6 separate regions of the Homo sapiens genome follow, and regions 1, 2, 4, 5 and 6 are each linked to region 3. The links are contacts of gene promoters, found by promoter capture Hi-C in blood cells and fetal thymus (Javierre and others, 2016). All regions are on one chromosome and are shown on one strand. The core of a region is centred on a gene start or on the middle of the fragment in contact, and the rest is flanking DNA. Distances in the headings are between cores, read along the strand shown. Region 1 holds the start of REX1BD (required for excision 1-B domain containing). Region 2 overlaps GATAD2A (GATA zinc finger domain containing 2A). Region 3 holds the start of SUGP2 (SURP and G-patch domain containing 2). Region 4 overlaps MAU2 (MAU2 sister chromatid cohesion factor). Region 5 holds the start of FKBP8 (FKBP prolyl isomerase 8). Region 6 overlaps KLHL26 (kelch like family member 26).

The links. The method cuts DNA at HindIII sites, captures the fragments that hold promoters and counts their contacts. A CHiCAGO score of 5 or more calls a contact.
Region 1: a contact is called between a fragment that was not itself captured here and the fragment with the promoter of SUGP2 in region 3, in 1 of 17 cell types (activated CD4 T cells). The highest score is 5.8, in activated CD4 T cells.
Region 2: a contact is called between a fragment that was not itself captured here and the fragment with the promoter of SUGP2 in region 3, in 1 of 17 cell types (erythroblasts). The highest score is 6.4, in erythroblasts.
Region 4: a fragment that was not itself captured here is called in contact with the fragment with the promoter of SUGP2 in region 3 in 1 of 17 cell types (M1 macrophages); the score reaches 5.5 in M1 macrophages.
Region 5: the fragment with the promoter of FKBP8 here is called in contact with the fragment with the promoter of SUGP2 in region 3 in 1 of 17 cell types (fetal thymus); the score reaches 5.7 in fetal thymus.
Region 6: a contact is called between a fragment that was not itself captured here and the fragment with the promoter of SUGP2 in region 3, in 2 of 17 cell types (M0 macrophages and monocytes). The highest score is 6.2, in M0 macrophages.

Annotation. Positions count from the first base shown.
Region 1 is chr19:18,585,211-18,589,682 of GRCh38, forward strand. It overlaps REX1BD (required for excision 1-B domain containing), which reads left to right and starts at 3,588. Exons shown (of 5, transcript NM_001100418.2): 1 at 3,588-3,690; 2 at 3,785-3,867; 3 at 4,203-4,472. The coding sequence starts at 3,592. RefSeq lists a silencer at 3,416-3,935. The HindIII fragment of the contact is 1,268 bases long and covers 1,277-2,544 here.
Region 2 is chr19:19,463,065-19,467,923 of GRCh38, forward strand. It overlaps GATAD2A (GATA zinc finger domain containing 2A), which reads left to right. Exons shown (of 12, transcript NM_001384528.1): 2 at 2,276-2,550. The coding sequence starts at 2,282. Among named protein-coding and RNA genes, the nearest start is that of MIR640, 30 kb to the left of the region's middle. The HindIII fragment of the contact is 3,138 bases long and covers 13-3,150 here.
Region 3 is chr19:19,030,950-19,035,534 of GRCh38, forward strand. It overlaps SUGP2 (SURP and G-patch domain containing 2), which reads right to left and starts at 2,568. Exons shown (of 11, transcript NM_001017392.5): 1 at 2,488-2,568; 2 at 2-133. The coding sequence starts at 122. ARMC6 (armadillo repeat containing 6) reads left to right here and starts at 2,654. Exons shown (of 9, transcript NM_001199196.2): 1 at 2,654-2,981; 2 at 3,182-3,289. The coding sequence starts at 3,261. RefSeq lists an enhancer at 1,300-1,801 and silencers at 1,728-1,807, 2,228-2,657. The HindIII fragment of the contact is 2,753 bases long and covers 2,073-4,585 here.
Region 4 is chr19:19,345,780-19,349,949 of GRCh38, forward strand. MAU2 (MAU2 sister chromatid cohesion factor) reads left to right here. Exons shown (of 19, transcript NM_015329.4): 13 at 1,501-1,587; 14 at 3,110-3,159; 15 at 3,376-3,453; 16 at 3,546-3,657. Among named protein-coding and RNA genes, the nearest start is that of MAU2, 27 kb to the left of the region's middle. RefSeq lists an enhancer at 3,153-3,653. The HindIII fragment of the contact is 7,729 bases long and covers 1-4,170 here.
Region 5 is chr19:18,542,323-18,546,471 of GRCh38, forward strand. FKBP8 (FKBP prolyl isomerase 8) reads right to left here and starts at 1,251. Exons shown (of 9, transcript NM_012181.5): 1 at 1,164-1,251. RefSeq lists a silencer at 1,067-1,496. The HindIII fragment of the contact is 8,591 bases long and covers 1-1,642 here.
Region 6 is chr19:18,640,264-18,644,531 of GRCh38, forward strand. All of the region lies in intron 1 of KLHL26 (kelch like family member 26), which reads left to right. Among named protein-coding and RNA genes, the nearest start is that of KLHL26, 5.4 kb to the left of the region's middle. The HindIII fragment of the contact is 3,768 bases long and covers 602-4,268 here.

The DNA.
Region 1 (4,472 bases), core at 661-3,160, 450 kb before region 3:
GAACCCTAATTTCCCCCTTATATACAGCAGTTCCGGCCCCCCTCAACATATGGGTGGAAAGCTCTGAGGCCTCATACATAGCTAACACTTCTAAGGGTCCAGGATTTTTTCATCCTAGTGATAGGTCCAATTTCCCTGACAGGGCTCAAGCAGCCTTAAAAGCAGCCGCCGCCATTCTCCGACAATTCGCTCTATCAGCTATCCCAATCATAGGTTCTGTGGGCACAATAACCTCCTTCTCTTCGCCTCCACTCCTTTGTATCTCCCATCAAGTGTTCCCATGATCACAAGGTGTGGGACACGTGGCTGGCTGCAACTATAGCTTGCCTTGGATATAGAGTTCAAATATTCTAATTCTTACAGTACGACTACTGGCACCCCAATGTTTTGTGGAAATAAACATGAGTTCCTTGGAAACCCTATTTCAGTCACCTATCCCTTAAGATTTACCACCCCAAGCCAAATAATTCCCCCACCAGAGGCCAAAACAACAAGCAATTACTGCTGGGGCAGACTTCCTTTTGCCCAGGATATCCCCCTCCTGGGACTTGGTTCCTCTCTCACAGGCAAAGGGTTAAAAAAACCCCATTGCTTCCTGCTTCCTGTCTGGGGTGCGCGAGTTTTTCTTTTTGTTGTTGTTGTTTTGTTTTGTTTTTGAGATGGAGTCTCGCTCTGTCGCCCAGGCTGGAGTGCAGTGGCGCGATCTCCCTCACTGCAAGCTCCGCCTCCCAGGTTTGCACCATTCTCCTGCCTCAGCCTCCCGAGTAGCTGGGACTACAGGCGCCCACCACCACACCCAGCTAATTTTTTGTATTTTTAGTAGAGATGGAGTTTCACCATGTTAGCCAGGATGGTCTTGATCTCCTGACCTCGTGATCCACCAGCCTTGGCCTCCGAAAGTGCTGGGATTACAGGCGTGAGCCACTGCACCCAGCCGAGAGTTTTTCTTAATGCAGCTAGCCACCGGTTTGCCTTACAGGAACCCCATAATACGTCCTTGGCAAATTCTATTCAGCTCCAACTGCTAGGAGTGGCCCATTTGTCCTGAACCCTCAAATCATGGGAATGAGAAATGAATTTAGACTGACCACAGCCCTTATGAGTTTTCAGCTACAGGGGTGTATAGAACCCTGATAAGGAGTTTTCTTTGTGTGTGGAAGATCCTTCTATATTTGCCTCCCCACCAACTGGACAGGAACTTGTACTTTAGCCTACATAGTACCTCCTGTGACTTATTCCTTTTCAGAAGAGGCAGTAGCTGTGCCCATTCATGCTAAGCTTCAGCCGAGAGCAATCTCACTACTTCCTCTATTGGCTGGTTTAGGATTTACTACCACCTAGGAAGTGGACTCACAGCCTAGATGAAATCTCTCTCCAACTTACTCAAATCCAGGACCAAATAGACTCATTAGCAGCTGTGGTTCTCCAGAACCAGTGAGCACTAGATCTCCAATCTCCTCACTGCCGAAAGGGGAGGAACATGCCTTTTTCTGAACAAGGAATGTTGTTTTTATGTCAATAAATCAGGCATAGTGAGAGATGGAATTAAATGACTTCAGGATAGAGCTAGCAGACTACATGGTGGGACAACCGAAACTACCTCAGGGTTCTCACAGCCTGTTCTCCACTGGCTTCTTCCATTTTTAGGTCCCTTCCTTATGATTATTCTAGGAGTAACCTTTGGCCCATGTCTTTTCAGTTCCTTCATCCTTTCGTTTCTTCCTGAATAGAATCAATGAAACTAGAAATGTTACTGCAGATGGAACCTCAGATGACTTCAACCAGCACCTATTATCAAGGACCCCTAAACCAGCCTGCCGGCCCATACCCGGACGTTGACACCCAAACCACCTCTCACGAGGAAACCTCAGCTACAGAACCCCTTCTATGCCCCTATTCAGCAGGAAGCAATTAGAGTGGTCATCCTCCCACACCCCAACAGCAGTTGGGCTCTCCTGTTGAGAGAGGGGACTGAGGGGTGGAGTTGGCAGGATTTACTGGGCAGGTTTGGGGACTTTCACAGAAGACCCCTGTGACTCAGTGTTTTGAGTTCTTAACCAATCGAGTGAAGGATTCAGAATTAACCACTCCAGGCCGGGCGCGGTGGCTCACGCCTGTAATCCCAGCACTTTGGGAGGCCGAGGCGGGCGGATCACGAGGTCAGGAGATTGAGACCATCCTGGCTAACCCGGTGAAACCCTGCCTCTACTAAAAATACAAAAAATTGGCCGGGTGTGGTGGCGGGCGCCTGTGGTCCCAGCTACTGGGGAGGCTGAGGCAGGAGAATGGCGTGAACCCGGGAGGCAGAGCTTGAAGTGAGCCGAGATCGTGCCATTGCACTGCAGCCTGGGCGACAGAGCGAGACTCTGTCTCACTAAAAAAAAAAAAAAAAAAAAACAAAAAAAAAAAACACTCCAGAGGAGGATTGAAAAAAGAACCACTCTCAATGGACAAAAAGAAAGGGGAGGGGTAACATAGGGATATGAGCCCTAGCCACCGGAGCCAGCAACGGCAACCCTTCCGGGTCCCCTTCCAGCATGTGGAAGCTTTCCTTTCGCTTTGTTCAATAAACTGCCCTGCTGCTCACTCTCCTGGTCCGTGGACTCTTTTTGATCTGTAACACACACCGCGAAGGTCCACAGCTTCATTCTTCAAAGTTAGCGAGACCACGAACCCATCGGCAAGAAAAACTCCCAACTCACTAACAGCCTAGTCCCTTCCCCCTTAAAGGCTGGTGTCTGTCACCCCATACCTGAGCTGGTCCCTCTTCACTAAGTCAGGCTACCAGCATCTTCCTGCTCCTCCGGCTGGGCCCCTGGAGGAGGAAGCTTTCCAAAGCTCTGTCTAGCCCATGTATCCCTCCAGCAGGAAGCTCCAAGGCCTCCTCTGTACTTTGAGGTCGTTCTGGCCCCTGCTATGCTCCAGGCTCAGGGCTATTACACAAGACACCCAATTCAACTCGGTGGGCTGTTGACACCGTCCCTGTCACTGAATCTTGTCTTCACCCCTGTGATTCTCTGAAGAGCCAGTGAATCTCTGTTAATGTTGGTGGAGTTCCAGCCACTGCACTTTTTTTGAGGCAGACTCACTGTGGCTCCGGCTGGAGTGCAGTGGCATGGTCATAGCTCATGGCAGCCCCCAACTCCCGGGCTCATGTAATCCTCCCACCTCAGCCTCCCGAGTAGCTGGGACTGGAGGCGGGAGCCACCATGTCGGGCTAATTGGTTTTTCTGTAGAGATCGGGCCTCCCTAGGTTGCCCAGGCTTACTTAACACTCTTGAACGTCAAAACCCACGCTCAGTACCCGCTTCAAGTGGAAGTCGGTGTTGAGATACAAGCATAGGAACGAACTCAAGGCTAACAGCTGTTCTGTATTCAGAGCCGCACAATCAAGGAAAAACACGATCGGAGGCGGGCCCTGGACGGGAACAAGAAGGGTGGGCTTGACTGGGCGGCCCGCGGTCTTGGTTCCCCTTTCTTCCTTCTGGCTGGCCGGCCGCAGGGTAGGGGGTCCGTGGACCTCCCGGCCTGTAGGGGGCGTCGGGCGCAGCGGAAGGGCCTGCTCCGGAGCCTGGCCAGGGCTGCGCAGTCATGATCACCGAGACCGCGGCGGAGCCTACGGTCCCTGCAGTGCCTGCTGCTGAGGAGGCCACCGAAGCTCGGGGACGCGAGGAGCCGGCGTGGCCCTGGGTGAGCCCAGGCCCAAGCGGGAACGGGCGCGGGGCGGGCGGCGCAGACCCAGGGGCGCGGGCTTCATGCCCCAGCCGTGCCCCCTGTCCCGCAGAAAGACGCCCCGATCCGGACGCTGGTGCAGCGCATCCACCAGCTGCAGGCTGAGCGCGCGCAGGGCTTCCGCCGACTGGAGGAGTGAGTGGGGGCGCGGAGGGGCTCAGGGTTCGGTCCCCCGCCCGCTCCGGGCGTGGGCGTGTTCTCGGCGGGCGTGCCTGGAGGAGGAGCTGGGTCCTTGTGTGGCTGCAGAGTCAGATGGGGCGGGGATTTCGGGGCACCGGGTCCTCACCTTCACGAAAAAGGCCCCACAGCACGTCCCCACTACCCGACGACTCACTCTTCGTGGCTTCTCTCTCCTCCCCAAGAGCAGGGGTGGGCCTGTCTCGCGTTCCCCTGCGGGAGTCAGGAAGCGTCCTTCCTACCTACCAGTCCTCCCCTCTGGTGTCTGGGGACACTTCCTGGGGGCCTTTCAGGTGGTTGGCGCCGGTGCAGGGCCTGAGAGCCTGGGGGCGCGGCCTCAGGGTCCCCACATGCCGCAGAGGCCACCGCCAGTACCTGCGCAGCGGCCCTGACTACGACTTCGCGCGCTACCGGAGCACAGTGCACGGGGTGACCCAGGCCTTCGCCGCCGCCTCGCGGGAGGTGCTGGCGGTGGAAGCAGAGCTGGGCGGGCCTCGCAGGCAGCCGCTGCTCGCCGGCCACGTGCGCAGCCTGCAGGAGCTGGAGCAGACGCGGCTGGGCAC
Region 2 (4,859 bases), core at 332-2,831, 430 kb after region 3:
GCCAGACTGGGAAGCTTCATCCGTAGAGTGGGGCCCTTACTTGTCCGAGGTCCTGGCCTCCCCTCATCTCTCACCTAAACAGGCTTTTCCCTGCCCTGGGCCTGGGAGTGCACATACCTGCTGTCTAAGGCAGTGCTTGAAGGAGAAATGTCCCACCCCTCCCACAGTGAGGGAAATGAGAGGAGGGGACCCACACTCTGAGGGCAGTGACTTATCTGTGGTCTCATGGGAGGCAAGACAGACAACCTGTTAGTGAGCAGTTCAGATGGGGTTTATGGGCAAGGCATGTCGGAGGAAGGAAGGACAGAGACCATAGAACTTCAGGGCTGAGAGGGACACCGTAGCATTCCTCACCTCCCCCAGAGAAGTGAGGCCATGACCTCCACATTCGACCTCTACCTGGGCTCCATTCCACGGAGGAGCTGAGGGGCAGCTGAGCAGGAGCGGGGGCGGGGGTGGACAGGGTGGCCGGGGGCAGCGGAGGCCGCACAGTTGGTGTGGGATAGGTGGTAGGTGCAGGCTGGGATGCCAGAGGGGCTGGGGACAGGTGGAGGCAAGTCTGAAAACCTGTGCCCTTGAGATTCGGAGTCTCCCTGCCTCAGCCTGGTCATGTTAAGGGTCAGCCATGGCACCTGGGTGGTGGTGAGACAGGGTAGGGAGCACAGAGCTGCTCTGGGCCTGTGTGAAGCACCAGGGATTTCCTGGCCTTGAGGAGACCCCAGTGTTTCAAGCCGGTGCCCGGGTGCCCTGGCTGGACCACACTGGCACAACACGCATGTAGACGGCCTGCTTTCCCTCTGGCTCCAGGAGCGTGAAGCAGCTGTCTCTTTCTTTCCTTTCAGTTTGAGTGCATGAGGGGGCACATTTGGGCAGGGCCTTGCGCTATTGCTCATTTGTGAAATTGGCTCCTTTAAGGAAGCTGCAGATGAGTCAGCTCTGGAGTGCGTCCCATGGATGGCGACAGGACCCCTGTGTTGCCTTGTGCTGCCCCCAGCTTCCAGACGGTCTGCCTGGCTCTACCTGGGACAGGCTTCCCCAGGGTGTTTGCCAGTGAGGAAACTAAGGCTCTGGCAAGATGAGTGCCCTGCCTGTGAGGACACAGATAGGACCAGAGGGCTTCAGCATAGAGCATGCCACAGGTGTGAATTGGGGTTCTCTGTGGGGCCCAAGTGGGCACCAACTGTCCCATGGAAAACTGTGACACTTCGGGAATTCCACTAGAGCTCAGCTGCTAAATTTCTCTTTTGTCCTCTGGTAAACACTGGGATGCTTTTTTAAGAACCTGACTCTCTCTGTCTCAATTCCTGTGCCCTGTCCTGTTGGGACGTCGAGGCCGGGATTAGAGCAGCCCCTTTAAGAGTGCCAGTGTCCCAGACCCTGCTGTGGAATGCCAGCCGCCTCCCTGCAGACAGACATCGCTGTGCTGTCGTCCTGTCTCCGTGAGGGTTAACAACACTTCAGCCTGTTGTCTGGAACCGGTTCAGACTGGTTTTCTGGAAAGTGCTTTGTCTCTCCGACTGAATCCTGGGAAGGGTCATGTGGAGCCAGTGATGTCATGGGATCAAAAACTGACTCAGCTGTTTTTTTCTTCTTTTTCTTTCTTCTTTAAATCAAGATATGTGTGTGCTGCAGGTACAGGGCAGTGGCACGTTGATGGGCCAGGCCTCACTCTACTCAAAGTGTACCTCACTGGCAACCAAAGGGTTAAATGTGATCCCCAGTCCCCACTCCCCAGAGGTGAGCAGGGAGTGAGGAGACCTCCCTTCCCTGAAGGGGAGAAGCTGGGGTTAACTCGAGTCACCACAGCATAGGGCTAGTCCCAGGCCCCGACCCTGCTCCTGGAACAGTGCAGTCACCGCCCTCCTGGATTCCAGACATTGCAGGTGCTGAAAATCCCAAAGGCAGGTAGTTGAGATCTAGAACAACTTTTCCTCTGTTTGCTGTTGAGCCTTTCCTTGCTGATAAGCAGCCACCTTCCACTGCTCCTGTTCAGCACCCTGCTGCCTCTGGCCCCCAACAGGGCAGGGTGTAGTTTGGCTCCACCAATGTTCAGCCACACAGTGGAGGCTGGGGACACCCCCCTCCTGCCTAGCCTTCCTCAAGGCAGTGATGAAATGTCCTGGGGATGCTTTTCTGGGCCCTGCGTTTGTTGTACATTCTTTTGCCATCCTTCCCATAGGGAGGAAAACACTGAAAGCAACACTGAAAAGTCTCCAAGAAGGTGGCACCTTCATTGCACCCAGTTAAAATGTTGTGTCTTCTCCTCCCTCCCAAGTTCAGAATGACCGAAGAAGCATGCCGAACACGGAGTCAGAAACGAGCGCTTGAACGGGACCCAACAGAGGACGATGTGGAGAGCAAGAAAATAAAAATGGAGAGAGGATTGTTGGCTTCAGATTTAAACACTGACGGAGACATGAGGGTGACACCTGAGCCGGGAGCAGGTCCAACCCAAGGATTGCTGAGGGCAACAGAGGCCACGGCCATGGCCATGGGCAGAGGCGAAGGGCTGGTGGGCGATGGGCCCGTGGACATGCGCACCTCACACAGGTGAGTGGGAGGAGCCAGCGGGAGGGGCTGGAACCTGGAGACAAGCCCAGTGTGCCCAGGTTGGGGCTGGCCACACTCCAGGCCTGTTGGTAACAGCTTGGCGGGGTTGTGGAGAGGGCTGTAGGCTCAGCTCGGGCATCACCCACCACTGGCAGCTGTGCTGTTGTGGCCATTCCAGGGCCCCAGGTCCCAACTGCAAGTGGCACAGAGTGTGGGTCTCACAGGAGAAGGAGTGGCACATTCCATCAGCTCCCCTGCCATCAGTAGGCCTTTGCCACCCACGCACCTGCTGTCTGTCCAACTCGGTGCTTTTGGTTTGTAGGGACACTTGAGTTATTCATTTGGTTATGCTTCCCTGCTTTTCAGATCTAGAGGTCAGAGGGCCAGGAATGCTACACCTACCTTGGTCACTTGGCTAGGGATAGAGTTGGGAGCCCAGCCCAGGGCACCCTCCTCGGAGCGGGTACGGGATGCTCACTCGACTCCATGTTCACTTGGTGCTGGTCTTTGGCTTGCTCTGTTGGTTTGTCCTTAGTCAACACTGATTACTTCAAGAGTGACTTTCCTCATATTCACCTTTTATGAGTCTCTTAAGGTAAAAGCTTGAAATAAAAATAAGACCCAATCTACCACCTATTTCTTGACTTCAAAACCTTCCTTTCTCTCTGTAAAGACAAATTCAGACCCAGCACCTGCTCTTGCATCACCCCTCCCCTTGGAGCTCTCCAGAATGTTCATGCCCAGACACCCACTGAGGGCTGTGGTGTGGCCACAGCTTCCCGGCTGGCCCTCTGACAAACTCCTCTGTGGCCCGTTGCTCTCTCTCCTCACCGCCCACTGGAGTCTTCTCCCTGTGGAGGGCCTGTCTCTCCACGCCTGTTCATAAGGGACAGCTGGTGGCTCCTCACCTTCCCGTGTCAGCTAACCCCACAGGATGACCCCAGCCTGCAGTCTTATGTCAAATTCGTTTTTGGAACCCAAACTGTTGGGATCCTGAGGACTTCAGAGATCATCTGGTGTTCACAGCGTTTAAAATGGGAAGATAAATGGGAAAACCCAAGCCTGCTCCTGTTGACAAAGCCTCCTAGTCTGAGGAAATATACTTTGTAGTCCTGCTGTCCAAAGAGGGCTTTTCTGTCTGACTCTGCTGTCTGCAGTCCCCATTCTAAAACCAAGGTCCTCTTCTAAAGTTCCAGAAATAAAACTATAGGTCCAAGTCTCCTTTTCCTTTCTCTATGTTTTCAGCCAGAGACCAGTCCATGACAGCTCAGCAGGGGTGAGCAGTGAGGGGCTGGTGTGGAGTCAGGGCAGGAAGAGGAGGAGTCCATGTTCATGGGAATCTGCAGTCCATGTGCATGGGGTCCCTTGTGCATTCCTGGGTTGCTGACATGCATTTTCTCCTGTAATCACCATGTTCCCCTGCAGGGTAGGTCAGTGGATTGTGAGGGAGAAGTTAAGTGTTAAAGAAACTCAGAGTTCAGCTGGGCGCGGTGACTCACGCCTGTAATCCCAGCACTTTAGGGGGCCGAGGCGGGTGGATCACAAGGTCAGGAGATTGAGACCATCCTGGCTAACACGGTGAAACCCCATCTCTACTAAAAATACAAAAAAATTAGCTGGGTGTGGTGGCGGGTGCCTGTAGTCCCAGTGACTTGGGAGGCTGAGGCAGGAGAATGGTGTGAACCTGGGAGGCGGAGCTTGCAATGAGCCGAGATCGCGCCACTGTACTTCAGCCTGGGGAAAGAGTGAGACTCTGTCTCAAAAAACAAAAAAATATTGCTAGCACCTCTGAAGCCCCCTCATGCTTGCTTGCTGCCACTGTCTTCCAAGGGTAATCACTTTCTTGACAATATGGATTAGTTTTTCCTGCTTTGGTACTTTAAATAAGTGGGATTATATACTATGTACCTTTTATCTTCCTGCTTTCACTCAGCATTGTGAGATTTACCCATATTGTTGTGCATACCAGTAGTTAATCCATTTTCATTGCTGTATAGTATTTTGTTTATAGAGTTTCTATTTGGGTATTTTTCAAAACTACCTTTTTTTCTTTCATGCTAACTTATTACCATCTTATGACCGAATCTGGGCATATTGAAAGCTAGAGGCAGTTTCTGATGGCTTCTAGGAGAGAGAATTTCCTTTTTCTTTAGTGGCTGGTGAATTGGAATCATCAAGAAATATATATGTTTGCATGTGTGTGTATAGTGTACATATTGCTATGTTGGATGATTTGGAGCATGCAGAGGCAGATACAGTAGTAGAATCAGCTTTCTGCCTCCATCTTTTACTCCGCTCCCTGTCGCTCT
Region 3 (4,585 bases), core at 1,318-3,817:
CCTTGAGCTTTAAACTGAAGAGTTTCGCTTACAGCCTCACCACTGGCATCCATGTGATATCGTTTGGCTTTTTCTTGTAATACAGCATCAAAAGTCTCCTGTGTAATTCGTCTGGCTGCCATGTTATTTTGCCCTATGGTGAGAGAGAAAAAAATACACTAAGAGCAACAACTTGGAGCTGGGCGCGGTGGCTCATACCTGTAATCCTGGCACTTTGGGAGGTCGAGGTGGGCGGATCACCTGAGCTCAGGAGTTCGAGACCAGCCTAGGCAACATGATGAAACTAAAATACAAAAAATTCAGGCTGGGTGTGGTGGCTCACACCTGTAATCCCAGGACTTTGGGAGGCTGAGGTGAGCGGATCATTTAAAGTCAGGAGTTGGAGACCAGCCTGGCCAACATGGCAAAACCCTGTCTCTACTAAAAATACAAAAATTAGCCGGGCATGGTGGTGCCTGCCTTTAATCCCAGCTACTTGGGAGGCTGTGGCAAGAGAATTGCTTGAACCCAGGAGGCGGAGGTTGCAGTGGGCCGAGATCATGCCACTGCACTCCAGCATGGGTAACAGAGTGAGACTCCGTCTCAAAAAAAAAAAAAAAAAAATTTCACCAGGCATGGTGGCACGTGCCTGTAATCCCAAATACTCAGGAGGCTGAGGCATGGGAATTGCTTGAACCAGGGAGACAGAGGTTGCAGTGAGCCGAGATCATGCCACTGCCCTCCAGACTGGGGGACAGAGCGAGACTGTCTCAAAGAAAAAAAAAATGCGTGCTCACAGAACCTGCTCTATTTCACTTAATCCTCGAAGTAAGGAGGCAGTAATCCATAATCCTCGCATGGTACTTCAGAGGCAAGCTGGACCCTTTTTATTTATCTTTTTTTTTTTTTTTTTTAAGTAGAGACAGGGTTTTGCTAGGTTGGCCAGGCTGGTCTCGAACTCCTGACCTCAAGCAATCTGCCCACCTTGTCTGGACTCTTTTAAGGGGGTCTCTGCCCTCACGAAGTTCACAGGTGTGTGCTGGCTGAAAAGGAGCAAGACAAACCTTCTCTGGGCCCATCTCCTTGGAATCCATTAAAAGCAGCTCTGTGAAAGCAGTTCTATCTGCTGGAGGAAGGTGTCAACCAACACACATAACTGAGCATAACAGAGTAGGAAGGGTGGGACCACAACCCTCGCAAATCGTGGTTAGGAAAGAAGAGATCAATCTTTTTTTTTTTTTTCTTCCTTTTTTTGAGACTCTCCCTGTTGCCCAGGCTGGAGTGCAGTGGCATGATCTCGGCTAACTGCAACCTCCGCCTCCTGGACTCAAGCAATTCTCCTGCCTCAGCCTCCTGAGTAGCTGGGATTACAGGAGTCCGCCACCGCATCCGACTAATTTTTATATTTTAGGTAGAGATGGAGTTTCACCATGTTGGCCAGGCTGGTCTTGAATTCCTGACCTCAAGTGATTCGCCCGCTTCGGCCTCCCAAAGTGCTGGGATTCCAGGCCGTGAGCCACTGCGCCTGGCCCAGGATCACTCTTTTCCCATTCACAGACTCAGCAGGGCACAGAGGCTCTGAGAACTTCCTTCCCTTCTAAAAGAAGCCTCTTGACAGTGAGTGGCGGGACCCCCAACCAATGACAATGAACTAGTGACAGTTCATTCTGCGCTGGGTCCTTGCGCGATCTCCCAACCACCCACTGAAGAGGCGGGTCCTGTTATGAATGACATTAGGGTGAGGAGGCAAAGGGAGACAGACTCAACGACCCATTCAAGACCAGACAGCCCAGATTTGAACCTGGCAAAAAGGGTATTCGTGCATCCAAAGCCCCGAAGAATGAGTAAAAAGATTAAGCAACATTTTGGGGTCCAGGGGCTGCATCCTTAACCATCAAGATATCCCGCTTCGCAAAACCTCCAACTTCAAGAGACAACCCGTAGGGTCCATTTCCCATCACGATCACCGCCTCCCCCACCCGCCTCCCCCAGTCCCATCCTTCAGCCCTTTTCCCGGGGCGCCCCCTTGTTCTCTGCTGGCAAAGGGCAGGGTTCCCGGGTCAGGTGACCCAGGTTCAAATCACACGATTCTAAGCTTTCTGTGCTTCCGTTTCCCCACCTATGGAATGGGCAGCCAGTAAAGGGGCTGGTGTGGGGGCTGAACCGGTTCTAAAGAGGGCAAGGGCCCGATGCAGCGCTGGGCGCCGTTATCTCCTCCCGAGCGGGGGCCGCTCCGAGTTCGGGAGGAATGAATGAACGACTGAACCAATGAGCCTTTGTGGACGCGGCCCGCCGTCTCCCGGCCTCTGCGGGCGAGGAAATGGGGGCGCCGGGCCCGGGAGGCCGCAGCCGGCCACCCAGGCCAACCCGGCGGGGACGCGGCCGCCGCCGCAGCCAGAGGGCCGAGCCTGCGACGCCATCACGGAGCCCGGGGCGGGCCCCCAAGGCCGAGCCCGAGCTTCCCACCCCGGGAGCCACCCACCGACGACGCCAGGGCCCGGGCCTCACCCCGAGACCACCGCGCGCGGAGCCACCCCCGCCGCCGCCTCAGGCTCCTCACCCGCCGCCGCCGCCGCGCGAGGCGGGGACATGCAAATGAACCAACGGTCTCCGCAGCGCCGCGCCGCGCAGGCGCAAGCCGCCGCCGAGTCCTGGTGCGCAGGCGCGGGCCGCCGCGGCCCGGCTCTCTTGCGCAAGCGCGCTGTCCGCTTCTTCTGGGCGGACGCTCTGGAGGCAAAACATTTCCCTGCTGGGGGCGGCGACCACCGTGAGCGTCCCGGAAGGGGCGGCAAAGACGCCTCCGTCGCGCACGAGGTGGCCTCGTTGGCTTTACCTTGGTTCGCGGTCGTCCTTGGTTATCGTGAGCGTCCGCGAGTCTCTGGGAGGCCAAGCCTAGGGGCGCCACAGCGCCTGCGCGCGTACGGCGGCCGGAAGGGGCTAGAGGCGGCTCCCTGGGTGACAACCGCGCGCCCCACCTTTCCCCACGTGGCCGCGAAGACCGGGTGAGACGCTGCGGCTGCCGAGGCCTGTCCCGCGCGGAGTGGGGAGTGGGGGTGCCGCAGGGTCGGGCTGGCGCGACCCTCGGGTACGTGGTTTGGGGGGAAAAAAAAAATGAAAGAATTTTACAGAAGCCGCCTGGGGACAAAATCCTCGGCTTCCCTGGCATTCGCTTTATTTTCATTCATTTTATTTATTCATTCAGCACCTGTGCACTGAGTGCCTGCTGCGTGTCGGGCCCCGTCCTAGGCAGTGGGGACAAGGAGGCTACAGGGTACAAATAAATGAGTGAACGATGTTGCTCTAGATACAGGTAATGGTGTGCAAATAATAACAGAGTGATGGGACGGGAAAGCAGGGCTGCTCTTTATCTAGAAGTGGTTTTGAAGGCTGTCTCTTGAGTGCTGGGAAGGATGAGAAAGGCGGGGAAGAGGAACTTGGAAGGCTTAGATAGAGAAGGTGCGGATAAGGAGGCTGGGTTTTGTTCTGAGAGGGTTGGGAAGCCACTACCGGGCTTTGAGCACGTGAGTGAGGTGGAGTCTAGGCTCTGGGAGTGGCAGGTGACGCCGCCCTTAGGGGAGGCTGGTGTTTGAACCAGAGTGGGTGTGGCTGGTAGAGGGACATGTGGATGGAGTCTTTTAGAGTCCCCAGCATGTCATGGCACACGTTTAATTTTCTTTTGAGACGGAGTCTTTCTCTGTCGCCCAGGCTAGAGTGTAGTGGCATGATCTTGACTCACTGCAACCTCCACCTCCCGGGTTCAAGGGCTTCCCCTGCCTCAGCCTCCCGAGTAGCTGGGACTACAGGTGCGCAACACCGCACCTGGCTAAATTTTGTATTTTTTTTTTTTTTGAAACGGAGTCAAAAGGAGTTCAAGCGATCTCCTGCCTCAGCCTCCTGAGTAGCTGGGATTACCGGTGTGCACTATCTTGCCTGGCCTTTTTTTTTTTTTTTGAGACGGAGTCTCGTTCTGTCACCCAGGCTGGAGTGCAGTGGCGCAATCTCAGCTCACTGCAAGCTCCGTCTCCTGGGTTCAGGCCATTCTCCTGCCTCAGCCTCCCGAGTAGCTGGAAATACAGGCACCCGCCACCACGCCCGGCTAGTTTTTTTGTATTTTTTTAGTAGAGACGGGGTTTCACCGTGTTAGCCAGGATGGTCTTGATCTCCTGACCTCATGATCCGCCCGCTTCGGCCTCCCAAAGTGCTGGGATTACAGGCGTGAGCCACCGTGCCCGGCCCTGGCTAATTTTTTGTATTTTCAGTAGAGACAGGATTTTGCTATGTTGGCCAGGCTGTTCTCAAACTCCTGACCTCAAGTGATCTACCCGCCTCAGACTCCCAAAGCGCTGGGATTATAGGCCTGAGCCACCGCACCTGGACAGCACAGTTTTCTTGATGAGCAGATTCCTGGCTGAGAGAAGGAAACTGGCTGCCAGTTAGGGGCCTTACTCATCTTCTGTTTTACCCTCAGCATGCCCTGATGGATAATAGGGACTGGTAATGCTGCTTCCCCCTTTTAGCCTAGGCTGTTCTCCAGGTAATTCTTACTTGGCCATCTCCAGGCACCATCTTATGTGTTCCAAATCTGTACTTTCCTCCTCCAACTCAG
Region 4 (4,170 bases), core at 1,287-3,786, 310 kb after region 3:
AGAGGAGGACTCTTGGTCCTGCTGGGCCGGAGAGGGTGAAGCAGCACCCCAGGCTCCTGGCCTTAGACGGGGGCCCCGCCAGGCCCTGGAAGAAGGCTGGTGCCACATCCTCACGGAGCGCCCCAGCCCAGGGCTGGACCATTGTGTCCCCACCTCAGCCTCAACCTCCTCACAGGAAATGGAGGCTGTGGACACCTTTTTCCTGGTGGTGCCAGGAAGGGCCCTGAGGAGAGGTGTCAGGGAGCAGAGGCTGCTCTGTCTGCCACTCGGGCAAGGTCACCAGGGAGTCCTGTGTGCGCCCTGACTGTTGGACAGGGTTCCCATTCCACGGCACCCCGCAGGCCTGTGGGTGCTGCCACCCCCGCCACTGGCCTCAGAGATGCACAGGAGCCCTGACATGCAGACAGCATGCTTGGGAGGGAAGGGCTGACTCAGCACCCACTCCTCTGCCTCCTCACCTCGCTCCCAGGACCCTGGCTCACTCTGACTGCAGCAGGGCCAGGACCCTCCTCGTGGCCCTGCCATCCTGCCATCTCCGTCTCCGTCTCACTCCCCACAAGTGGTTGCTATTGCTGGTTTGGTTCCGCGTCAAAGTTCCCAAGGCCATGTACCCTAAGGAGTCCTCACCCCGAGGCCAAAAGAGAGCCTCTTTTTCATGGCCCACCCAGGAGTGATGGAGCCAGGATGCAACCCCAACACCCCTAACCCCAAACACACACGCCTCCTGTGGCCCTGAAACAAACATCTCCCACCTTGCTACGTCTCAGAGCATCTGTGCTTGATTCGGAAGATCCTCTGGGCCTCCTGGGTGTGTGCCAGGAGGGGATCTGTGCAGGTGGGGTCTGTGCTTCCTGGGCTCACTCCACCTCTTGCCCAGCCCCACTGGGAACCAGGGTCTGAGCAGGGCTTGAGCTACATAGATTGGACCCTCTCTTGACGAACGATCTCATTTGCCAAGAAGAGCCAGGGACCATGGCCCATCCACCACCTGTCATCAGCAGCATTTCTGGTCTCTGACACAGCATCACCTACCTGGAGCGGGGCCTGTGCTGGCCCCCTGTGGGACAACAGCTCCCCTCTTCCCCACTTCCCCCTATGAAGAGTGACCCCCGCCTAGGACCAGCATATGCCTTGATGGCAGTGGACACCTGGGTCCCACAGGTTGCTGGCTGTGGCCTGGAGGAAGGGTCCACCAGGTCTCAGTCCTGAGAGACAGTGGAAAATGGACCAAAACCCGACATGTTCTGAGGGTAGGATTGGGGTGGCTGGTTTTCCTCTTCTGTGTTCTCTAACTGCCCCGTAACGCAGATGATGGTTTTATAATGAGAAGAAGTAATAGCTGTGTTATCCTTGAGCTTAGGAGGCAAAACAAGTGTGTTTGAAATGAAAAGAACAAGTCTTTTCCAAAGTAGTCTCCGTGGAGATTGTGGGTGCTCTGACACTGCCACATGGGTCACAGCACCCGACCCAGCCCCCTAATGTCCCCGCCTCCCATTCCAGCTCACCAACCACCAGGAGCTGTGGGCCTTCATCGTCACCAACCTGGCGAGTGTGTATATACGGGAAGGAAATAGACACCAAGAGGTAGTAGGTGACATGCTTCATGTTCGGTATCCTTTCTCTCTGTTCTCTTCTTTTTGGGGAACCAGGGGGTTGTCCTGGGCACCAGCACATCTCAGCAGACCCCAGGGTGTTCACCTTTTGAGGGATGGGCGGCACCCGACACAGACACACAAGGCGACCCAGAGGTGAATCGGGCTATGGCCGGGGGAGGCCAGGTCTGGGACAAAAACATTCCCATAGCCACAGAACACTTCTCTTTATCACAAACAAACCAAGCTGTATGAATCACACAGACAAGGTCTTATAGCCCAAGCTGTCTGCTCTAGGATGTCGGCCAGGCATTGAGGCTCAGTCCTAAGGGGCAGCAGCCAGAGCACCTTGTCCCCAGGTTGTGCTGATGCCCCTGCAGGATCAGGGGCACTCACTGGCTGCAGTGTTGGGTGGGGATGCCCAGGGTTGCCCTCACGTGGCGCTTCTGAACCAATGCTTGCATAAGAGTTAGGTTCCCTCTTCTGTCCCTTTTAGCCCTGGGATCCCCACTCAGCCCTGGGATCCCCCTCAGCCCCGGGATCCCCTCCTCAGCCCCGGGATCCCCTCCTCAGCCCTGGGATCCCCCTCAGCTCTGGGATTCCCTCCTCAGCCCTGGGATGCCCACTCAGCCCTGGGATCCCCCTCAGCCCTAGGATGTCCCTCAGTTCTAGTATCTCCTTCACCTCTGGGGGTCTACCTCCAAAGTGTATCAGGCCAGGTGCTTGGCTCACACCTGTAATCCCAGCACTTTGGGAAGCAAGGCAGGAGGATCACTTGAGGTCAGGAGTTCAAGACCAGCCTGGGCAACATAGGGAGACCCCCATTTCTACAAAAAAATTTTTTAAAAACTTGGTGGGGTGCAGGCCTGTGGTCCCAACTACTCGGGAGACTGAGGCAGGAGGATTGCTTGAGCTAGGGAGATTGAGGGCTGCAGTGAGCCATGATCCAGCCACTGCACTCCAGCCTGGGCGACAGAGCAAGAACCTGTCTCAAAGGAAAAAGAAAGCCCAGCCCCGGCTTAGTCATCCGATGCCATACGTGGGCTCGCAGTGTTGAGGAGGAGTTTGGCTCCCCTGTGCCTCTGCAGCTAGAGGGCAGCTAAATTATCAGTCAGATCACGCCCCCATCAGAGCCTCCCGGGGTCCCTGCACCTCCAGAGAAATCCCACCCACTCACCCCCACAGCCCACAGGGCTCACGGGCCCCAGCCTGCCAACCTACCCACTGCCAGGCCAGCCCCTCAGCACCACTCTGACCATACAAAGGCCTTCTGGACGCCCAGGCCCCTGTCACCTACTGCAGGACAGGGTGGCACAGGCAGGGCTGGCTGAGGGTGTGGAAATCTTGCCCCCGGCCCTTCTCACCAGAGGCTGCTCTTGCTGGTCAGTCACCAGGCTCAGCCTGGAGGCCACAGTCCCGACGGGGGTGTAGAGAAATTCCCATGCACTGCAGTGTGTCTTGGGGACCTTTCTCCTGTGAAGATGCAGAATGGTGCTGACTGGCTCTTTCCCCCGCAGCTCTACAGTCTGCTGGAGAGGATCAACCCGGACCACAGCTTCCCTGTCAGGTGAGCCGCTCCAGGCACCACTCCACGCACGGCCTAGGCTCCCCGTGCTCTTTGGTTGGGGCCCCTGACTGCCCCTTGCACCCTGACACCCCATACCCCTCCTCACAGACAGTCTGCAGTGGGGGCTCTCAGAAATAGCCCCCAGCTGCCCACTGCCGTTTTGTAAACCTGCTTCTCAAAATCACCACCCCATGTGATACTGCACTCTCCCTGCAGCTCGCACTGCCTCCGAGCAGCCGCCTTCTATGTGCGTGGGCTCTTCTCCTTCTTCCAGGGACGCTACAACGAGGCCAAGTAAGTGTGGGGCAGAGGGTGGCGTGAGGGCCATGCTCAGGGTAGCCCAGGCCCCGTCCTGCAGTTATCAGCGTCCATGTTCTCCTTGTCAGGCGATTTCTGCGGGAAACTCTGAAGATGTCCAATGCTGAGGACCTGAACCGGCTCACAGCCTGCTCCCTCGTGCTTCTGGGCCACATCTTCTATGTGCTGGGAAACCACAGGGTGAGTGCCCTGGCCTGGGCCCCTCGCTTGGGTGCCTGTGGGGCTTGGCTGAGGGACAGGAGCCGGCCAGCACCCTAAGGGTGGCATGGCACTGTTCATCCTATGCCCCTCGAAGAGCACGTCTAGGTGGATGCCCTGACTCCCACAGCCTGGGCAGGCAGGGCCAGAGGAGCTGGGCACCCACAGAGGGTGTGGGGGGAAGGCAGGAGGCCTGATGGGTGTGGCCTCAGACATTGGGCAGGCAGAGCCCCAGGGCTCAGGGGAGCTGAAGCCAGAACCAAAGGAGCTGCCCTGAGCTACTGGGGATGACGCAGCCACCCCATGCTATGTGTTGACACCTGAGGGGCAGAGAGGTGTCTCCTCTCAGCCGGACTTCCAAACATATCATCCTTGGCCAACACAGTGTCCTCTCAGGGTACAAGTGGCCCCTGGGATTGGTCCCCACCCAAGGTCAGCCAGTCTCTGGTGGGACTGGCCGCCTCAGTCCTTCCTGTCAATTCCTCGCCTACTCTC
Region 5 (4,149 bases), core at 1-2,500, 490 kb before region 3:
TGCCCAAGGTCACAGAGAAAGCCAAAGGCCAAAGGAGGATTTGAACCTGGGGCTTCAGGCCCTGTGGCTTTGCCTGATTATAAGCTGAGCGAAGGGTGCTGGGATTTTTGTGGAGAGGACAGCCTCCGAGGCCTTAGGGAAGCCATTTTTAGAGCCTCTAAGGCCACTGGGGGAAATTGAATCTTTTACCAGGGCCTCCCACCTCCAGCCTCTTCTCCAAAGGGGAGACCCTCCCCAAAAGCACCAACTGTAATCACCCAGAAACCCCAAGCGTTTTTTCCTTCCACACTCTGAATCTAACACTATCCCCCACAACCCCAACATCAGGGACCCTGGCCCAAATCCTTCCCCAGGAGACCATCCTCCTCTCATCAGGCCTCGGTCCCACCCCCTCAAAGCAGCCTCCTTTCCAGGAGTGGTCGAGGTCCCACCACATTCTACAGCCTCTTCCTTGCCCCAGACCTCCTGAACCAATAACCAACCCCTCCGTCCCCCAGGCCCCAAGCTCAGAAGAGTGTGGCACAGCCATCAAACCAGCCCGCCGCATCCCCTCCCTAACCCTCACCTGCCTGCTCCTCCCGGGCTCGGAGCCCCACTTTGAGAGACCCTCCCAGCCCCCACCCCCATAATTCCCCGCGCCCGCACAATTCGGCCTCCCCTCCCACCCCCCACCCCAACCACCACCGCCCCCAGCACGGGCCAGCTCCCCCCACAGCCGCTCCGTCTCGCCGTAAACACTCCAGTGTCCCCAGACGCCCCCCCCTTTCCGATCCCATAACACCCCACGCTCTCCTGACGCCCCACAGCCCCGGCCGGGCCCTCAGTCAAGCCGCGACCCAGGCCCCCAACGACCCACGCCTGTCTGACGCCACCAGTCTGGGGCACCCGACCCCCGCACGCCTCGGGCGCCCCTGGCCCTGCACGCCTCCATCGGGACCCCCCCACTGGATCCCCTTTGCCCCCAGTGACCCCCATCCCTGGCCACCCCCGCCCGGCCGCGCCCCCTCGGGCACCCCCGACCCCCGTGCCCCCCCGGCTCGCCACCCCCGCGGCCCCTCGCCCCGCCCATCGGCCGCAGCCCCCGGCGCGCTAGCCCCCGGACCAGCCTAGGCCAGGGCAGCGGCCCGGCCGGCACGGCGCCCCCAGCACCCCAGGACACTTGCCTCTGGCTCCGGGACCCCCACTTGGGGTCCTGCGCCCCCCTCCCCGCCCCCAGCCGCGGCCGCCGCGCCTCGGGAACCAGGTTCGGCCGCTTGGCCCCGCCCCTGCCGTGCCCATTGGCCGCCGCTGCCGCGACTGCCGCACCCGTTGGCTCATGCAGACGTCCGTCCCGGGCGTTGGCACCTCCCCCTTCCTGCTTGGCCCCGCGGGGCGTTCTTAAAGGGACCGAAGCCTCCCGGCTGCTGGGGCTGGGGCGGGGGCTGGGGCGGGGGCTGGGGCGGGGGCTGGGGCGGGGGCGGGGGACCCTGGGCTGGACCCCAACACGGGTCAGTATCGCGCAGCCTGTGCGACTCCTGCCTCTCCTCTGAGCTTCATCCTGACCATCTGCGAAATGGGGATAAACACCCCCATCTATGCACTCTCACCTTGGGGGCTGCTGGGGGCACAGTCCACTCTAAATGTTATTTCCTTAAAGAGTTCAAGCTTGACGGGCAGGGCAGCTCTGGGGTTGCTGAATGACCCATCCTGAAGCCTTAGTTACAGAAGTGAACCTGAGGGCCTGAGGAGGAGTGACGTGCCCAAAGGCATACAGAAACCTCCCTCCCATCCCCCACACAGTTTAATGTCTAGAAGGTTGCCTGGTGCATACTGGAGGCGCTCGATTACTGCTGCGCAGGCGACTGAGCCAGCAGGGCCACTGGGAGGAGTTCCTCCTCTATGCACTGTCTGCTGGAGGGTGATAAGGTCCCCATGGCTCGGGAAGAAGGTGGCATCCTTGATTAGCTAAGTTTTTGTGGATCTTGTTTTGAAACCGGGACACTTCTCCCTCCTTCACTCAGTTTTATTTCCTTCCTAGCAGTTACTCCTTCCAGAATTATCTTGTCATTATTTTGCTTGTGGTTGGAGGGACCATCCCTCACTCTGCTTCATCCTGGCAGAGATTTTTACCTGATTTGTACCCAGCACCTCCTTGAACCATGCCTGGCATCTATAGAAGCTCAATAAATGGGTAGGTGGATGGATGGATGGATGGATGGATGGATGGATGGATGGATGAGTCAGACACCAGCTTTTGGAGGTAGCTATCATGGAGGTGGTAACTGGCTTTTTGGAGATCACTTCTAAGGTTGGAGTTCCCAGGTTACCTCCTACAGGAAGCCCTCCCAACCTCCCCAAGGCAAGACCAGGTGCCCCCTTTAGCTGTCTTGGCACAATGAAGTTGATGAACGTCCACTTCATAACTAGTTTACTTGGGTTTTTTGTTTGTTTGTTTGTTTTTGTTTTTTGAGAAGAAGTTTCACTCTTGTTGCCCAAGCTGGAGTGCAATGGCGCAATCTCAGCTCACCGCAACCGCTGCCTCCCAGGTTCAAGCGATTCTCCTGCCTCAGCCTTCCAAGTAGCTGGGAGTAGAGGCATGCACCACCATGCCTGGCTAACTTTGTATTTTTAGTAGACACGGGATTTCTTCATGTTGGTCAGGCTGGTCTCAAACTCCCGACCTCACGTGATCCGCCCACCTCGATGTACCAAAGATTACAGGCATGAGCCATCGTGCCTGGCCTTTTTTTTTTTTTTCTTTCTCTTTTTTTTTTGAGACAGAGTCTCTCTCTGTCGCCAGGCTGGAGTGCAGTGGCGCGATCTCGGCTCACTGCAACATCCACCTCCTAAGTTCCAACGATTCTCCTGCTTCAGCCTCCTGAGTAGCTGGGACTACAGGCACCCGCCACCATGCCCAGCTAATTTGTATATTTTTAGTAGAGACAGGGTTTCACCATGTTGGCCAGGATGGTCTGGAACTCCTGACCTCATGATCTGCCTGCCTCGGCTTCCCAAACTAGTTTACTTATATCTCTGCCTTTTTTTTTTTGAGATAGGGTCTTACTTTGAAACCCAGGCTGGAGTGCAGTGGCACGATCTCAGATCACTGCAACCATGTCTATCTCCTGGGCTCACGCAATCCTCCTGCCTCAGCCTCCTGAGTAGCTGGGCCCACAGGTGCACCATCATGTCCAGCTAATTTTTTTTTTTTTTTTTGAGACAGAGTCTCGCTGTGTAGCCCAGGCTAGAGTGCAGTGGCGCAATCTCGGCTCACTGCAAGCTCCGCCTCCCAGGTTCACACCATTCTCCTGCCTCAGCCTCCCAAGTAGCTGGGACTACAGGCGCCTGCCACCATGCCCGACTAATTTTTTGTATTTTTAGTAGAGTCAGCGTTTCATCGTGTTAGCCAGGATAGTCTCGATCTCCTGACCTTGTGATCTGCCCACCTCGGCCTCCCAAAGTGCTGAAATTACAGGCGTGAGCCATCGCGCCCGGCCCAATGTTTATATTTTTTGTAGAGATGGGGTTTCCCCATGTTGCCCAGGCTGGTCTCGAACTCCTGGGCTCAAGCAATCCTCCCACTTTGGCCTCCCAAACTGTTGGGATTATAGGCGTGAGCCACTGCTTTGATTTACCTCTGCCTTGCCCTCTACACTGGCAGAGCCCCAAAGTCTGGGAAGGCTTTGTTCTTTCTCATTGTTATAGCTCTGAGGCTTGCACAGTGCCTGCCACAAAAGGTAGTGGTGGGGTCTCACGGAAATCACTGAGGAAGGAAGGGAGGTTAAAGGTGGTAGCATAGCAGAGCTATGTAAGAAATCACCTGGAGGGCTGGGTGCGGTGGCTTATGCCAGTAATCCCAGCACTTTGGGAGGCCGAGGTGGGTGGATCACCTGAGGTCAGGAAATCTAGACCAGCCTGGCCAACATGGTGAAACCCCGTCTCTACTAAAAATACAAAAATTAGCCGGGTATGGTGGTGCATGCCTGTAATCTCAGATACTGGGGTGGCTGAGGCATGAGGACTGCTTGAACCCCAGGGGTGGAAGTTGCAGTGAGCAAGACCCAGTCTCAAAAACAGCCTTTGGGAGGCTGAGGCAGATGGTTCACCTGAAGTCAAGAGTTCGAGACCAGCCTGGCCAACATGGTGAAACCTGTCTCTGCGAAAAATACA
Region 6 (4,268 bases), core at 1,236-3,735, 390 kb before region 3:
TCACTCTGTTGCCCAGGCTGAAGTGCAGTGGTGCAATCACGGCTTACTGTAGCCTCTACCTCCTTGGGCTCAGGTGATCCTCCCACCTCAGCCTTCCAAGTAGCTGGTAGGTACTACAAGGGCGTATGCCACCACACCCAGCTATTTTTTCTGTGCTTTTGTTGAGACAAAGTCTTGCCATGTTGCCCAGGCTGGTCTTGAATTCCAGGGCTCAAGCAATCTTCCCACCTCTGCCTCCCAAAGTGCTGGGATTACAGGTGTGAGCCACTACGCCTGGCTATGTTTTAATTTTTTTTTTTTTTTTTTTTTTTTTGAGATGGAGTCTCTCTCTGTTGCCCAGCAGTTGTTCACTGCAACCTCTGTCTCCTGGGTTCAAGTGATTCTCCTGCTTCAGCCTCCTGAGTAGCTGGGATTGTAAGGATGCGCCACCACACTCAGCTAATTTTTGTATTTTTAGTAGAGACGGGGTTTTGCCATGTTGGCCAGACTGGTCTTGAACTCCTGACCTCAGGGGATCCGCCTGCTTCGGCCTCCCAAAGTGCTGGGATTACAGGTGTGAGCCACTGAGACTGGCCATGTTTTAATTTTTAGGAAACTGCCAAGCTTGTTCCCAAAGTGGCTGTACCATTTTGCATCCCCACCAGCAATGTTCAAGAGTTCCAGCTCCTCCTCATCCTCACTAACACCTGGTATGGCCAGTCCTTAGTTTTAGCCATTCTTATAGGTGTGTGCTGGTGTCTTCATTTGGTGTTTTTATTTATTTATTTATTTGTGAGATGAGGTCTCACTCTGTCGCCCAGGCTGGAGTGCGATGGTGCGATCCTAGCTCACTGCACCCTGGAACTCCTGGGTTCAAGCAATCTTCGGGCCTCAGCCTCTGGAATAAGTGGGATTACAGGTGTGCACACCACTGTTCCCAGTCTTATTTTGGTTTTAATTTGCATTTCTCTAATAACTAATGATGTTGGACAGTTTTTCATGAGCTTCTTAGCTATTCATCTCTTTGGTAACGTGTCTTTTCAAATGTTTGGGCCATTTTTAAGTTGGGTTGCCTTTTTTTTTTTTTTTTTTTTAAGACTGAGTCTCGCTTTGTTGCCCAGGCTGGAGTGCAGTGGTGCGATCCTAGCTCATTGTAACCTCCACCTCTTGGGTTCAAGCGATTTTCATGTCTCAGCCTCCCGAGTAGCTGGGATTACAGGTGCATGCTACCACACCCGGCTAATTTTTGTATTTTTAGTGGAGACGGGGTTTCACCATGTTGGCTAGACTGGTCTCAAACTCCTGACCTCAGGTGATCTGCCTGCCTCAGGCTCCCAAAGTGCTGGGATTAGAGGCATGAGCCACCACACCCGGCTCTTTTTCTTTTTTCTTTTTTTTTTTTTTGAGATGGAGGCTTGCTCTGTTGCCCAGGCTAGAGTGCAGTGGCGTGATCTTGGCTCACTGCAACCTCTGCCTCCCAGGTTCAAGCAATTCTCCTGCCCCAGCCTCCCGAGTAGCTGGGATTACAGGCGTGTGCCACCACACCCGGCTAATTTTTGTATTTTTAGTAGAGACGGGGTTTCTCCATGTTGGTCAGGCTGGTCTCGATCTCTTGACCTTGTGATCTGCCCGCCTCAGCCTCCCAAAGTGCTGGGATTACGGCGTGAGCCACCATGCCCGGCCCTCTTTCTTAAAAGACATCTTTGTCATTCTCCCCTATCCTCCATCCTAGTGAAAAATCACTGTTTGGAGCAACTGATAGGGGCATCTCATGCCTCAGGTGCTAGTGTGGGGAGAACCCCTAATGTGGCAAGATGGAGCATGCAGAAAATGGATCATATTTTGAGGGAGATTGGTACAAGACATTCTCCCAAAAGTCATTTTGAGACATTGAGTCTTTGTAGCATTGTTCGTCTGTTCCTTCATTTATTGCAAATGGGACAGCCAGGCCTGGAGCACGACCCACCTCCTCGCCTCAACCTGCCCACGTCTCCTTCCTCTTCATCCTTCCACTCTCCAAGGTTCTGGCCCCTCAGAGCCACCTGCCTGACCATGCAAGCTCAAGTAGTCCCCAGGACACTTTTGCTAGTCACCTAGTGTGTGTGTGTGTGTGTGTGTGTGTGTGTGTGTGTGTGTGTGTTTGAGATGGAGTTTCGCTTTTGTTGCCCAGGCTGGAGTGCAGTGGCATGGTCACTGCAACCTCCACCTCCCGGGCTCAAGCAACTGATTCTCTTACCTCAGCCTCCCGAGTAGCTGGGATTACGGGCGCCTGCCACCAAGCCTGGCTAATTTTGTATTTTTAGTAGAGGTGGGGTTTCTCCATGTTGGCCAGGCTGGTCTGGAACTCCTGACCTCAGGTGATCTGCCTGCCTGGGCCTCCCAAAGTGCTGGGATTACAGGCGTGAGCCACTGCGCCCGGCTTGTGGTTTTTTGTTTGTTTGTTTGGTTTGGTTTGAGGAAGAGTCTCACTCTGTCGCCCATGCTGGCATGCAGTGTCGTAGCTACCTGCAGCCTTCTTGACCTCCTGGGCTCAAGCTATCCTTCTGCTTCAGCCTCCCGAGTAGCTGGGACTACAGGCATCTACTAACACACCTAATTTTTTTTTTTTTGAGACATTGTCTCATTCTGTCGCCCAGGCTAGAGTGCAGTGGCACAATCTGGACTCACTGCAACCTCCACCTCCTGGGTTTAAGCGATTCTCCTGCCTCAGCCTCCTGAGTAGCTGGGATTACCAGTGCACGCCACCACGCCCAAATAATTTTTGTATTTTTAATAGAGACGGGGTTTCACCATGTTGGCCAGGGTGGTCTTGATCTCCTGACCTCGTGATCCACCTGCCTTGGCCTCCCAAAGTGTTGGGATTACAGGCGTGAGCCACTGTGCCTAGCCCACACCTGACTAATTTTTAAAAATTGTTTTGGGCCGGGCGCGGTGGCTCATGCCTGTAATCCTAGGACTTTGGGAGGCCGAGGTGGGCAGATCACTTGAGGTCAGGAGTTTGAGACCAGCCTAGCCAACATGGTGAAACCGCTTCTCTACTAAAAATACAAAAATTAGCCAGGATTGGTGGCACGTGCCTGTAATCCCAGCTACTCGGGAGGCTGAGGCAAGAGAATCACTTGAACCCGGGAGGCAGAGGTTGCAGTGAGCTGAGATCGCTCCACTGCGCTCCCACCTGGGCGAGAGAACCAGACTGTCTTAAAAAATATATATATTATTTTATAGAGATGGGGTCTTATTATTATTTTTTTTTGAGATAGAGTTTTGCTCTTGTTGTCCAGGCTATAGTGCAATGGCATGATCTCGGTTCACCAAAACATCCGCCTCCTGGGTTCAAGCGATTCTCCTGCCTCAGCCTCCCGAGTAGCTGAGATTACAGACATGTGCCACCATGCCTGGCTAATTTTGTATTTTTAGTAGAGATGCGGTTTCTCCATCTTGGTCAGGCTGGTCTCGAACTCCTGACCTCAGGTTATCCGCCCACCTTGGCCTCCTAAAGTGCTGCGATTACAGGCATGAGCCACTGTGTCCGGCCAAGATGGGGTCTGATTATGTTGCCCAGGCTGGTCTTGAACTCCTGGGCTCAAGTGATCTTCCTGCCATAGCCTCCCGAAGTGCTGGGATTACAAGCATGAACCACTATGCCCAACCTGTATTTTTGTTTTTTGTTTTTGAGGTACTATATATGTAACACAAAATTCACCCACTTTAAGTGAACAATTCAGTGGCATTTAGTACATTCACAGAATTGTGCAACCATCACTGCTGTCCAGTTCCAAAACATCTTTGTCCCCGCAAAAGGTGACCCCATCTTCATTAGCACTAACCCCCTATTCTCCATTGCCCAGCCCCTGACAATCACCAATCTGCAGTCTGTCTCTATCCGTTTTCAAGTTTTATAGGTAGAATCATGCACTATGTGGCCTTTTGAGTCTGGCTTCTTTCACTCAGCATGATGCTTTGGGGGTCATGCATGTTGTAGCCTAAATCAGCACTTCATTCCTTTTTATGGCTGAGTAATATTCCACTGTGTGGATGCACCACATCATCCATTCATCTGTTGATGGACACTTAGATTGGTTCCACCTTTTGGCTATTATGAATCATGCTGCTATGAACATGAGTGTACACATTTTTGTCTAAACACTCATGTTCAGTCCTTTGGGGTACACATCTAGGAGCAGAATTGCTGGGGCGCATGCTTGTTGTATATTCTTGATCATGCTGGTCACCACCTAACGTTATTTGTTGTGTTTCTCTGGTGCCTTGAGGTTGGAAAGCCTGTCTCT